Linked DNA regions of Homo sapiens: regions 1, 3 and 4 are each linked to region 2. Evidence: promoter capture Hi-C in 16 types of primary human blood cells and fetal thymus (Javierre and others, 2016). All regions are on one chromosome and are shown on one strand. Each heading gives the region's core, a stretch centred on a gene start or on the middle of the fragment in contact. The rest is flanking DNA. Distances are from core to core; before and after follow the strand shown. Region 1 overlaps SBNO1 (strawberry notch homolog 1). Region 2 holds the start of EIF2B1 (eukaryotic translation initiation factor 2B subunit alpha). Region 3 overlaps SBNO1 (strawberry notch homolog 1). Region 4 overlaps SBNO1 (strawberry notch homolog 1).

Region 1 (3,011 bases), core at 455-2,954, 310 kb after region 2:
GTGAGCTGAGATGGCACCATTGCACTCCAGCCTGGGTGACAGAGAGACTCGGTCTCAAAAAAAAAAAAAAAAAGAAAAAAGCAAGACATACACCTGCTAATCTATATTTTTCTGTACATAATTGCCTAGAACTACCGTGTCCAGAATGGCAGCCGCTTGTCACATGTGGCTATTGAGCAGTTGAAATGACTGGTCCATATTGAGATGTTATTATATGTGTACTGAGCCAGGTTTCAAAGACTCCTTAAGAGAAAATAACATAAAACATATGTGTTGACATGGTATATTGAGTTAAAATGTATTATTAAAATTAGTTCCACCAGTTTTATTTATTTTTTACTTTTTTAATTTAAGCTACCAGAAAATACAATAATTGTGTATGTGGTTTGGCTTGCATTCTTATTATTTAGTTGGACAGCTTTGGGCTAGAAAATTAAAATTTATTTGAGCTCGTTTATCAGTATTTTGTAAAACTGAACAAAGTATATTTCAATATATTTAATAATACTTTACATATAATTATTTTGTCAACTGAAGCAGTAATTGTCACTGTTTCTCTCCTACAGAGGTGTGTTGCAGTCACTCATTGAAAAACATTTTCCTGCTCCAGACAGGAAAAAACTTTATAGTTTACTAGGAATCGATTTGACAGCTCCAAGTAACAACAGTTCGCCAAGAGATAGTCCTTGTAAAGAAAATAAAATAAAGAAGCGGAAAGGTGAGCACTTTAAAAAAGAAAAAATAGGCCAGGTGCGGTGGCTCACACCTGTAATCCCAGCACTTTGGGAGGCTGAGGTGGGCAGATCACGAGGTCAGGAGATCGAGACCATCCTGGCTAACACGGTGAAACCCCATCTCTACTGAAAATACAAAAAATTAGCCGGGCATCGTGGTGGGCACCTATAGTCCCAGCTACTCGGGAGGCTGAGGCAGGAGAATGTCGTGAACCCAGGAGGCAGAGCTTGCAGTGAGCCGAGATAGCGCTGCTGCACTCCAGCCTGGATGACAGAGCGAGACTCTGTCTCAAAAAAGAAAAAGAAAAAAGAAAATAGTTGACGTTGAAAATACTGTTGAAATTAAAACATAAGCATTTTAAAGTGGCTATATTTTGGGAATGAACTGCCTTCCATGAATTCACAAATGGTTCCAAATTTTCACTGTCACTTGTACAATTTTGAATGCACAAGTTATCCCCGTTTTAAATTAGGAATTGAGCAATTCACTGGTGGTTGGCAGTGTGTTAAGCACTTGGCTATATACATTCTACCATATAACCTGGCAGAGGTCCATACGAAATTAGGTCTTATTTTTCCAATTTTATAGACAGAGATCATTGAAGCACAGAAAGATTTAAAGATTAAAGAGTTTTCCTAGTTTCACAGAGATAGTTAATGATGCATGGGAACTAAAACCTGTGTCTTTGTATTGTCAGACCTGTTCTTTAATATATAGACAGCTGGGTGTTTCAGTAGTTTTCTTTAAAAGAGCCTTTTCTTTTTTTTTCTTTTTTTTTTTTGAGACAGGGTCTCCGTCTCCGTCACCCAGGCTGGAGTGCAGTGGTACCATCTTGGCTCACTGCAACCTCTGCCTCCTGGGTTCAAGGAGCTGGGATTACAGGCATGCACCACCACGCCCTGCTAATTTTTGTATTTTTAGTAGAGATGGGGTTTCACCATGTTGGCCAGGCTGGTCTCAAACTCCTGAGCTTAAGCAATGCACCCACCTAGGCCTCCCAAAGTGCTGGGATTACAGGTGTGAGCCATCTCGCCCAGCCCTGTTTTGGTTTTAGAAGTTGACTTCTCGCCGGGCACAGTGGCTCACGCCTGTAATCCCAGCTTTTTGGGAGTTGAAACAGGCGGATCACCTGAGGTCAGGAGTTCGAGACCAGCCTGGCCAACATGGCGAAACCCCTTCTCTACTAAAAATTAAAAACTTAGCCAGGACTGGCGGCAGGGGCGCCTTATAATCCCAGCTATAAGGGAGGCTGAGGCATTAGAATCACTTGAACTCGGGAGGCAGAGGTTGCAGTGAGCCAAGATTATGCCACTGCACTTTAGCCTGGGAGACAGAGTAGACACTGTCTGGGGAAAAAAAAAAAATATCTGGTCATGGTTGCATGTGCCTGTAGTCCCAGGTACTTGGGAGGCTGAGGTGGGAGGATCACATGAGCCAGGGAAGTCGAGGCTGCAGTGAGCTATGATTGTGCCACTGCACTCCAGCCTGGGCAACAGTGAGGCCCTGTCTCCAAAAATAAAAAGGTTTTATAAATTGATTTTCTATTGATTTTCTAAGTATTCCATGTCTATAAACCTGTAATTATTAGGCCTCTTCTCAAATCTGATACACAGTCAAATTGTGACTATGCCAGAGGTTCTGCTTTTACTCTGTTGTCCTGAATATGTTTTGAAACTTGTGCACTTGAAGGCAGTCTTGACTTAGTACTTTTGTATCCAATTTCTTCTTCAGAATAAATGTTTATAACCTTATTTTTTATGGGAGTCCAAAAGGTTAGTGCTGGTTTGTGAATTCTGTTTGTTTTTTGACTTAACCTAAATACTTTTCCTCTGCACTTTTCATTTGAATTAATTCATGAACTAAATGTGATGTACTGGATCTTAAGAAACATTGAATTTGGGCTGACTCTCTTGTTTGTGGCGGAGGGTAGGTGAAGAAATAACTCGAGAAGCCAAAAAAGCACGAAAAGTAGGTGGCCTTACTGGTAGCAGTTCTGACGACAGTGGAAGTGAATCTGATGCCTCTGATAATGAAGAAAGTGACTATGAGAGCTCTAAAAACATGAGTTCTGGAGATGATGACGATTTCAACCCATTTTTAGATGAGTCTAATGAGGATGATGAAAATGGTAAGTTCAGTATATTAAATATACACGAAAGCATATAATATTTCAGTATATTTGAAAATGGGATATGAAACCTTTTCTTCTGTACAGTACAAATGATCACACAGATTATAATCTTTGCTTGGTGGAAAGCTCCAGGCTTATCTACCTT
Region 2 (3,016 bases), core at 220-2,719:
ATCTATACACATGCAATGACCCTGTGAATTTCCTTCTTTAGTTCGCTACCTCATTTGTAGACAGGAGCAATGCCAGGCCTGCCTCCCTCACAGGGTTGTGGTATGGTTTCACATCAATTAAGAGAGGATGGACAATTATTACAGTTCCTGAAAGGACTCCCCTATCTCTATTCTTGCTCCCCACAGTCCATTTTCCACACAACAGCCACAGTGATCTTTTAAAATTGCAAACCAGATCATAACACTTTCTGGCTTAAAACTCTACAATGTCTTTGTATTGCACCTAAAAATAAAGGCCAACTTCTCTATCACGGCCAATAAGGCCCTGCATGACCTGAAACTGGCTGGTTCTCTGATCTCATCCCTCTAGCCTCCTTTTAAATCTTCAAGACATCTGACTCTGTATGTGGTAGTTTAATGTATGAATGAGTCTCCCCACCATCCTCTACCCGCAAGCTCTCCATTTCTCCCTTCTCAGTGTAACTTGGTGGCTCAATCTGCCACAGGGCCCATGCACTTAAAGTGCACTTCCCCCAGAACTTCACATAATCATTCAAGTCGGTTTCAATATCCTGCACTTTTCCTAGGCCCCTATCTAAAACAGCTCCTCCTCAATCCTAGTCACAATGTACTATTGTAACTAGGACCGTACTGTTACATCATCTTCATAGCTCTTTTCATCCTTTGAAAAATAATTTATTTTTTAATTTTTTATTGACGAGGTCATGCCCTGTCGGCCATGCTGGGTGCAGTACTGCCATAATAGCTCACTGAAGCCTCGAATTCCTGGGCTCAAGTGATTCTCCCGCCTCAGCCTCCCGCGTAGCTGGGACCACAGACACGCGCTACCACGCCCGGCTAATATTTCATTTTTTTTGTAGAGATGGGGTCTGGCTGTGTTGCCCAGGCAGGTCTCGAACTCCCGGCTTCAAGCGATTCTCCCTCCTCGGCCTCCCAAAGTGCTGGGATTACAGGCCTAATCCACCGGGGTGCGACCCGGCCGAAATTATTTTTATTTATTGTCATCTGTTTCACCCAGTAGACTGTAACCTCCACTAAGGCCCCTGTCTGTCACGATCTCTGCTAAAATCCAGAAAATAATGCCTGTACACAGGAGGCGATCCAAAACTATTTACTGAATGAATGACTGAATGCCTTGGCTACTCCTCTAAAGACCAAACGGATTCTATCCAGCCCAAAAGACACATTCCATCTGGCCAGTCGTAGCCGGACCGAGACAGCCGAGCCCCGGAGTCGAAGTCCCGCCCTGCAGGGTCCTCACCGTCTGAAACCATGGCTGTCCCAGCACCTCAGCGCAGAGCAAGTGGTGGTCAGGGGAGCGTCTCAAATCCTGCGCAGCCCAACGTCCGGCGCCGCCAAGTGACGCACGAGGTGCTGTGACTCGTGCCAGCCCCCTAATCTGCGGAAGTGGAGTGCGGGGAGTGCGCCGGAAGAGGGGTACGGAAGTGCGCCGGAAGTGGGGTGCGGAGGTGTGCAGCGCGCTGTCAGACTGGCTCGCAGGCGGCGCGGCCGGCGGACCCGTTCGAGACAGCGCGGGCGGCTCGGGTCCCCTGGGGCTCCGCAGCAGGAGGACGCCATGGACGACAAGGGTAAATCAAGACAGGCCAGGGCTGCTAGGCTACAGCAGCGCCGTTCAGGGGTCCCCCCAACCTCTCACATCCAGGCTGAGCTCCCGAAGAGATTTCTTTTGAATTTCAGGCTGCTCCGCTGGTTGTGTTTCCAGAGTCACAACTAAATCCCTCGCGCTGCTCTTGTTTTCAGGGATGCGCCCTGGCAGTATCTGCAGGCATCCCTCCCACACATACGCTCCTTCCCAGTGCCAGTCTCCTTCCTGCCTTGTTGGATCTGTCATTAAAATTAGAATGAATAAGGCATATTTGATGTGCTCATCTAGTATGGTTATTAAGTGAAAAACAAGGGCAAACTAATACACTTTTCATGTAAAGAAATAAAGGGGAGTGGGTGGAACTCCATGTATAATATTTGTAACATATATGTGTATGTGAATAGACATGTATTAGCATAGACTGTCTGGAGGGGTGCAGGAGAAATTGGCAAGATGGTTGACTCTGGGATCCTCTCAGATTTTAGGACCAAAGAGGCTGAAGAGAGAATGACTTTTCATCATCATTTACTCGGGCTTAATTTTTAGGCCTTGCACACCAGTAGCTTTTTTTTTTTTTTTTTTGAGACGGAGTCTCGCTCTGTCACCCAGGCTGGAGTGCAGTGGCGCAGTCTCGGCTCACTGCAAGCTCCGCCTCCCGGGTTCACGCCATTCTCCTGCCTCAGCCTCCCAAGTAGCTGGGACTACAGGCGCCCGCCACTACGCCCGGCTAATTTTTTGTATTTTTAGTAGAGACGGGGTTTCACCGTTTTAGCCGGGATGGTCTCGATCTCCTGACCTCGTGATCCGCCCGCCTCGGACTCCCAAAGTGCTGGGATTACAGGCGTGAGCCACCGCGCCCGGCCACCAGTAGCTTTTTCAAAATAAAAAAGAGCTCTTGCAAACAGCAAAGTGGTATTTTCTCTATTCCCATCAACATTTATTGCATCCCTGAAACCAAATACCCTAAAAAGAAAGTATTTTTTAAATTGTTTGCTTCTTAAAGTCAACAGTCATTAACAAGCTCTCTTGCCTTATAGGCTGCTAAATGAATTAGGTGAATCACTTTTTTCCCTTTTTCCAGAGTTAATTGAATACTTTAAGTCTCAGATGAAAGAAGATCCTGACATGGCCTCAGCAGTGGCTGCCATCCGGACGTTGCTGGAGTTCTTGAAGAGAGATAAAGGTATATAGAGAGTCATCTGTTAACACTCTGGGACTTAGGATAGTCTTTTTTTTCTTTTCTTTTTTTTTTTTTTTAAAGAGACGGAGCCTCACTCTGTCACCCAGGCTGGAGTGCAGTGGCGAGATCTTGGCTCACTGCAACCTCCGCCTCCTGGGTTCAAGCAATTCTCCTGCCTTGGCCTCCTGAGTAGCTGGGATTATAGGTGT
Region 3 (3,270 bases), core at 666-3,165, 290 kb after region 2:
CTCTATCTCAAGAATTCCAGGTACTGTGAGGACTTCAGGGATTCTTGGAGGCTGAAGGCTGGTTCCAGGGGTTCTGGACTGGATACCTCCCACCCCTATTCAGTCAAGTAGCTCTGCTGATTGATAAGTGGATTCTGAGATTTTATTGCTATATTTAAAAGAGTTTGAAAACCAGTGGTATAGAAGAAAGTGTTCATTGTTTAGATCTTTACTCTGGGAGCAGGAGGAAGTAAGGAGTTCCCAAATTGATTTTTCTTCTTCTAGAAATAATTATTTTGCCTTGAAAATTAGTAAGTACCACCAGATCACATGAAATTGATTCTGTTTGGGTGATAACCCCAGGTTTTGGGTTTTTTTGTTTTTTTTCTTTTTTGAGAGTCTTGATCTGTCGCCCAGGCTGGAGTGCAGTGGCGCGATCTCGGCTCATTGCAGGCTCTGCCTCCTGTTTTCATGCCATTCTCCTGCCTCAGCCTCCCTAGTAGCTGGGACTACAGGCGCCCGCCACCACGCCCAGCTAATTTTTTTTTGTATTTTTTTAAATTTTAATTAATTAATTAATTAATTTTTTTGAGACAGAGTTTTACTCTTGTTGCCCAGGCTGGAGTTCAATGATGCAATCTCAGCTCACTGCAGCCTCCGCCTCCCGGGTTCAAGCAGTTCTCTGCCTCAGCCTCCCAAGTAGCTGGGATTATGAGCATGCGCCACCATGCCCGGCTAATTTTGTATTTTTAGTAGAGACTGGGCCTCCTCGGCCTCCCAAAGTGCTGGGATTACAGGCGTGAGCCACTGCGCCGGCCTTGTTTATTTTTAATGAGTCAAATGAAGTGTCTCAAAGTAATGCTGGCTTTTGGGTATCTTTCTGATAAATAATTTTCAAGCTTCCCTTGCACACGTTCCTTTTGAGTTGTTTTCTAAAGTTAATTCTTTACTTCCATAAAGACACATGGGTTTACATGTTTTCATGCCTGTGCTTAATTTAAATTAGTAATAGAGGCCAGGTGCGGTGGCTCACGCCTGTAATCCCAGCACTTTGGGATGCCAAAGTGGGCAGATCACCTGAGGTTGGGAGTTCAAGACCAGCCTGACCAACATGGAGAAACTCCGTTTTTACTTAAAAAAAAAATTACAAAATTAGGCAGGCATGGTGGCGCATTCCTGTAATCCCAGCTACTTGGGGGTCTGAGGCAGGAGAATCGCTTGAACTCGGGAGGAGGAGGTTGCAGTCAGCTGAGATTGCGCCAACGCACTCCATCCTGGGCAACAAGAGTGAAACTCCAAAAATAAATAAATAAAAATAAATTAGTTATAGGCAGATTGACATTCTTTGGTTTTTGAAATATGTAAACTTCTGGGTTTTTTATTTTTATTTTTTTAGACAAAGTCTTGTTCTGTCACCCAGGCTGAAGTGCAGTGGTGCAATCTCGGCTCATTTCAACCTCCACCTCCCAGGTTCAAGCAATTCTCTGCCTCAGTCTCCCGAGTAGCTGGGATTACAGGTGCCCGCCACCACGCCCAGCTTGTTTCTGTATTTTTAGTAGAGATGCGGTTTCACAATCTTGGCCAGGCTGGTCTTGAACTCCTGACCTTGTAATTCACCCGCCTTGGTGTCCCAAAAATGCTGGGATTACAGGTGTGAGCCACCGCAGCAGCCTTAAACTTCTGGATTTTTAAATAATGGGAAAATAAGTTCAGAATTTTCTTCTAAATGTAATTTGACTTTTTCCTCCTCAGCTGATGTAAGCAATGGTACAGTAAAGAAAGAGTCTTCTAATAAAGAAGGAGCTAGAATGTGGATAAACGACATGAAGATGAGGAGTTTTTCCCCAACCATGGTGAGTTTCAAATAACTGTGTCTTTATTTTTGTGTAGTATGAGAGTGTACTCAACTAAAAGTGTTCTATATGGAACAACCCTCAGAAAGCTGTTTTTGGGTTGGGAAGAAGCTATACAGGCGTGGGAACTAATGGATATGCTTAAACCTCGCTGGAGTAATATAGATACTAACCAGGGTGGTTAAAACTTGCAGATTGATGGAGTGTGGCACTAACATGCAGTACTGATATCTTACTGTTAAAAATCTCATCTGAGCAGAAAAAAAGACAATGTGGGGTTAACGAAAAGTATTTGATAACTGTGTTCATTTTAGGACCGAACTTGAATAGAAAGCTCATAATGCATTGACAGATCATATAATGATCTGGTTATGAGTGATTCTTTTTTTTTTTTTTTTTTTTTTTTGAGACAGAGTCTTACTCTTATCGCCCAGGCTGGAGTGCAGTGGTGCTATCTTGGCTCACTGTAACCTCCACCTCCCAGGTTCAAGTGATTCTCCCACCTCAGCCTCTCAAGTAGCTGGGATTACAGGCATGTGCCACCATGCTTGGCTAATTTTTGTATTTTTAGTAGAAATGGGGTTTCACCATGTTGGCCAGGATGGTCTCGAACTCCTGACCTCAGGTAATCTGCCCGCCTCAGCCTCCGAAAGTGCTGAGATTACAGGCGTGAGCCACTGCACCCGGCCTGGTTAGAATTCTTAACATTTTGAAAATGCTGTATGCTTTGGATCAATTGATTCCATACATTTATTTAATAAATTCTCCATGTATAACATTGTTAATATGTAGTAGGTTTCTACAAGAAGTATATTTATTACATGATTCTACCTTCAGTAAGCAAAATTTGACAACCATCTGGATTAAGTAGTAATAATGAAAAGTACATCAAATGGTATGCAATGTGCTACTCACAATAAAGGTTAGGAATTTGGAGGAAGAGGTGACCTTCCTGAACTCTAGTGGCCTGGTGGACTTTATGGAGAGGGAATAATGGAGCTTGGGTTTTGAGTATGACGAGACTTTGAGGTGGGATATTAGGAAGGGAGCTAAAGGATTAATGGGCACAGAGGGGAGGTAGTGAGTATGTGCTTCGGTGAAAATAAGCCAGGAAGCTTAGCTTGTAGAAAGAAGTGGGAATAGTAGGTCTGGGCTCCATGGAGGGTCCTGAATTGAGGTTTTTATTGTTGTTGTTGTTTTTGAGATGGAGTCTTGCTCTGTTGACCAGGCTGGAGTGTAGTGGTGCAATCTTGGCTCACTGCAATCTCCGCCTCCCAGGTTCGAGCGATTCTTCTGCCTCAGCTTCCTGAGTAGGTGGGATTACAGGTGCCCACCACCAGCCCTGGCTAATTTTTGTGTTTTTAGTAGAGACGGGGTTTTACCACATTGGCCAGGCTGGTCTCGAATACCTGACCTCAAGTGATCCCTCCAGCTCGGC
Region 4 (3,322 bases), core at 39-2,538, 340 kb after region 2:
ACACTATCAATGATACAAATTCATAGGAGTATTAATGCATTTCTTTAAACACAACTTGATTAAGAAGCAAATATGTTAAGCAGTTTTCTTTTTCTGCTGCTAAATTACAGTTAGACACTTCAGTATCTTCTCTTTACATGTGTATATAAATTAGTAAGAACCTGCATCCAAAGCAATGTAGTGTGTGTATGTATCTATATATATTTATTCTAACTCAGCACTTCAGAAGCCTTTTTGAGTTACAACAATATTTTAGTTTGCCTCATCTGTAGAGGTAAAATTTCTATATTACCAAGCTCCAGAGGAATATGATATTTTACAGGCACAATTTTCTGGCTGTAGTCCCTGGGGCATTCATTTGCTGGCCTCCATGGGATGCTGTTAGAACAATTGTTAGCCGGCAAGAGAAGAAAGGCTACCAGGACAGCATTTATAATTGTAGAATGGGAGCCTTCTTCCCTCTCCCCTCCACTTTCATTTTAGCATGAGATAAAAAAATAGATTGGAAATGATTGTTGCATCTCACTTCATGGAAGTAGGGGCAGAAGTTCCCTCTGGATCCTTTTCTTGACAAGCAGTCAAGAGGAAGGTCCCCATACACATGTACCTGTGTGATACTTGGTAGTTTCTAAGAATGGTGCTACATAAGCGTTGCTGTTAGGCTGGGATCCTATTAATGAACGTTTGATTAGTTCAGGCCTCCCAATGGCAAAGGCAGACACCGTGGAGATGGACATTTACTGACTCCCCTTCTGTGTGGCTTCGGTCTCCCTGGCTAACACCACACCTGTGCGTACTGCGCTCGGCCCACTTTGCTGCAGAAACGTAGCAAGCGTTTCATGTCAGGGCTACAGCTGAGAGCAAAAACTGCAAAAAAAAAAAAAAATGTCTCATTGAATGCCAGTTGTCTGATACAAATGCAGTGTCTTTTAAGTGACAGAAACACACCTAAATACCTGCAACTCAAGCTCGCTAGCATTTTTTTTTTGAGTACTTGAGATAAAATCCAAAACCCACCCTCTAATTTTGTGCTGTATTTATATATATGTACATAAATGTATATATAGAGAAATGTTGAGTTCTTCTGGATTCTGAATGTAAATAATTCTTGTAAATTGGGACTCTGCCCACCTGTTTCTCCCTTTTCCCTCTTCCCTTCAGCTCTATTTATTCTTTTCTTGACTTTCCCATATGGGGCATCTTATGACTTTTTTTTTTTTTTTTTTTTAAGAAAAGTATGGAAAACTTTTCATTTAGAAAAGTATTTGTTCCTGTATTTTAGAATTCAGTTTTGCATCTTTGCTGTAGAATTCCTGTTTTGTGTTAATGTTTTTTACTATGTCTTATTGTGTTGTGTGCAATGCATTGTACTGGGGGGATGCACTTGAGTGCCATTTCTGATACTGTCATTGTATGACTGCTGATGCTCGTTTATGTTGTTCTTTGGAAGCTATAGTGAGCCTGATGTTTTCACATTTTAAAAAATGCTTCCTGAGACTTCTTTAAGCTCCTCTAACTTCTTCAGTGCATTTGGGATCAAACTTAGCTCTTAGATCAGCAAACCTGACTTGCTTCTACTTTTGCAATTTTTCAGGCCTTACCATATTTCTTATCTCTGTCTTCCCACCTGATAGGAAAATCTTGCAGATTTGAAACAGTGGTTTCTGGCCTGCTGCTGCAGCAAATTCCCTATGTTTATTTAAGAAGTCGGGCCTATGCTTTTAACCTACAAATGATGAGTAATTTACTTGCAATGAACACAGGTAGCCTGCTGCTGTTTATAACCTGTTGAGGATATTTATAGCAGGCAGGAGGCAGGCCTAGTGTGTTATTGACAGGTGACTTTAGAGAATGTACATTGGCCGGGTGCGGTGGCTCACGCCTGTAATCCCAGCACTTTGGGAGGCCGAGGCGGGCGGATCATGAGGTCAGGAGATTGAGACCATCTCCTGGCTAACACGGTGAAACCCCGTCTCTACTAAAAATACAAAAAAAAAAAAAACTTAGCCAGGCGTGGTGGCGGGTGCCTGTAGTCCCAGCTACTCAGGAGGCTGAGGCAGGAGAATGGCATGAACCTGGGAGGCAGAGCTTGCAGTGAGCCCAGATCGCGCCACTGCACTCCAGCCTGGGCAACAGACCGAGACTCCGTCTCGAAAAAAAAAAAAGAGAGAGAATGTACATTAAGGAACAATTGTCCTCCAAAAGAGAGCCAAGCAACTGCTCTGGAGCCTCCTAGGCTGACTCTGCTGGAGGGTGAGACAAGCAGATTCCCATTGCAGCACTGGTCCCTGGGGTACCCTGAACGGCTGTGCTCTCCACCCTTGTATCGGTGAGTGGATCTTGTCTACATCAGCCGTAAGCCTAGAAGCAGAGCGGGATCGAGGCGTTTTTAATAATTCGAGTTGGGAAGACCCGGATGGTTCATCAAAATGATGGTGTTGAGCACCCGGGAGGCAGACATTGGGTATTTGTTCACAATTTTGCACCTGTAAGAAAATGTTCCTTTATAACTTTCAAGGATTGCCGTGAGCGTCTTTGGGGCCTTTTCATTCATGTACAAGTTTCATTCATTACTATTCAACTTGGTAGACTTGGTGAAAAATGTAAAAGCATTCTGTATTTGGATCAGTCTTGGGAACTAAATTTGTCGTGAATTGGGGCCTGTCACAGATTGCCTCCAGTGTGCATCCTCCACGCAGACCCTCCTTGCTCAGTCTCCCTCTGGCGCCCATGGGGAAGCCGTGCTGTGGTTGGCAGTGCGGCCATCTGGGCTGCCGCAACGTGGCAGGGCACCGTCCAGCAAGACTGCCCCTTAGTGCAGGGCTAAGCAAGGAAAAGAAGAAGCCCAAAAAGGCGGGTTCTTTTTGATACTTGTAATTCAGGCGTCCTCCAGAGTGAAGGCCACTCTGCAGGCCCCTGGTGAGAACCTGTCTGGCTTTTCCACTGCGGGCCCCTAACCAGTACCCTGCCCTTGTGGCCCATTTGTGCCTGGGCAGATGTTTCTGGCCAGCAGACACTGAAGGCCTTTTTGCTGTGACAGTATTTATGGCACTGAAGAGGATAAAGAAGCTTGAGCCCTCTTTCTGACTCCCACTTTATGGGGCAGAGAGAGCTTTTTTTCTACATAGCACATTGCAGTCTCACCGCTATCAGAAAAATATCCTGTTCATGGTTTATACTGAATTTGCAAACTACTGATATGATTTTTCAATAACCACTTGTATCTTCCATCATCCATGAGAGGTGGGAAGAGGTACACTGTATCTCTGCAATAAAACTTTGGCCAGGTTCTACCTCCTCTGAGCAAAGGATACTTTTCTAT

Evidence for each region. Contacts are between HindIII fragments. The CHiCAGO score rates a contact against its expected background, and 5 or more counts as called.
Region 1: a contact is called between a fragment that was not itself captured here and the fragment with the promoter of EIF2B1 in region 2, in 3 of 17 cell types (M2 macrophages, M1 macrophages and erythroblasts). The highest score is 7.5, in M2 macrophages.
Region 3: a contact is called between a fragment that was not itself captured here and the fragment with the promoter of EIF2B1 in region 2, in 1 of 17 cell types (non-activated CD4 T cells). The highest score is 5.1, in non-activated CD4 T cells.
Region 4: a contact is called between a fragment that was not itself captured here and the fragment with the promoter of EIF2B1 in region 2, in 2 of 17 cell types (naive CD4 T cells and M1 macrophages). The highest score is 5.8, in naive CD4 T cells.

What each region holds. Positions count from the first base shown.
Region 1 is chr12:123,321,387-123,324,397 of GRCh38, reverse strand. SBNO1 (strawberry notch homolog 1) reads left to right here. Exons shown (of 32, transcript NM_001167856.3): 16 at 567-718; 17 at 2,666-2,863. Among named protein-coding and RNA genes, the nearest start is that of MIR8072, 42 kb to the left of the region's middle. The HindIII fragment of the contact is 5,710 bases long and covers 1-3,011 here.
Region 2 is chr12:123,632,139-123,635,154 of GRCh38, reverse strand. EIF2B1 (eukaryotic translation initiation factor 2B subunit alpha) reads left to right here and starts at 1,469. Exons shown (of 9, transcript NM_001414.4): 1 at 1,469-1,610; 2 at 2,709-2,810. The coding sequence starts at 1,598. GTF2H3 (general transcription factor IIH subunit 3) reads right to left here and starts at 1,326. Exons shown (of 13, transcript NM_001516.5): 1 at 1,283-1,326. The coding sequence starts at 1,295. RefSeq lists an enhancer at 1,253-1,442. The HindIII fragment of the contact is 11,619 bases long and covers 1-3,016 here.
Region 3 is chr12:123,339,550-123,342,819 of GRCh38, reverse strand. It overlaps SBNO1 (strawberry notch homolog 1), which reads left to right. Exons shown (of 32, transcript NM_001167856.3): 5 at 1,732-1,832. Among named protein-coding and RNA genes, the nearest start is that of MIR8072, 24 kb to the left of the region's middle. RefSeq lists a silencer at 1,429-1,652. The HindIII fragment of the contact is 2,069 bases long and covers 881-2,949 here.
Region 4 is chr12:123,289,586-123,292,907 of GRCh38, reverse strand. It overlaps SBNO1 (strawberry notch homolog 1), which reads left to right. Exons shown (of 32, transcript NM_001167856.3): 32 at 1-3,322. Among named protein-coding and RNA genes, the nearest start is that of CDK2AP1, 19 kb to the right of the region's middle. The HindIII fragment of the contact is 3,566 bases long and covers 1-3,071 here.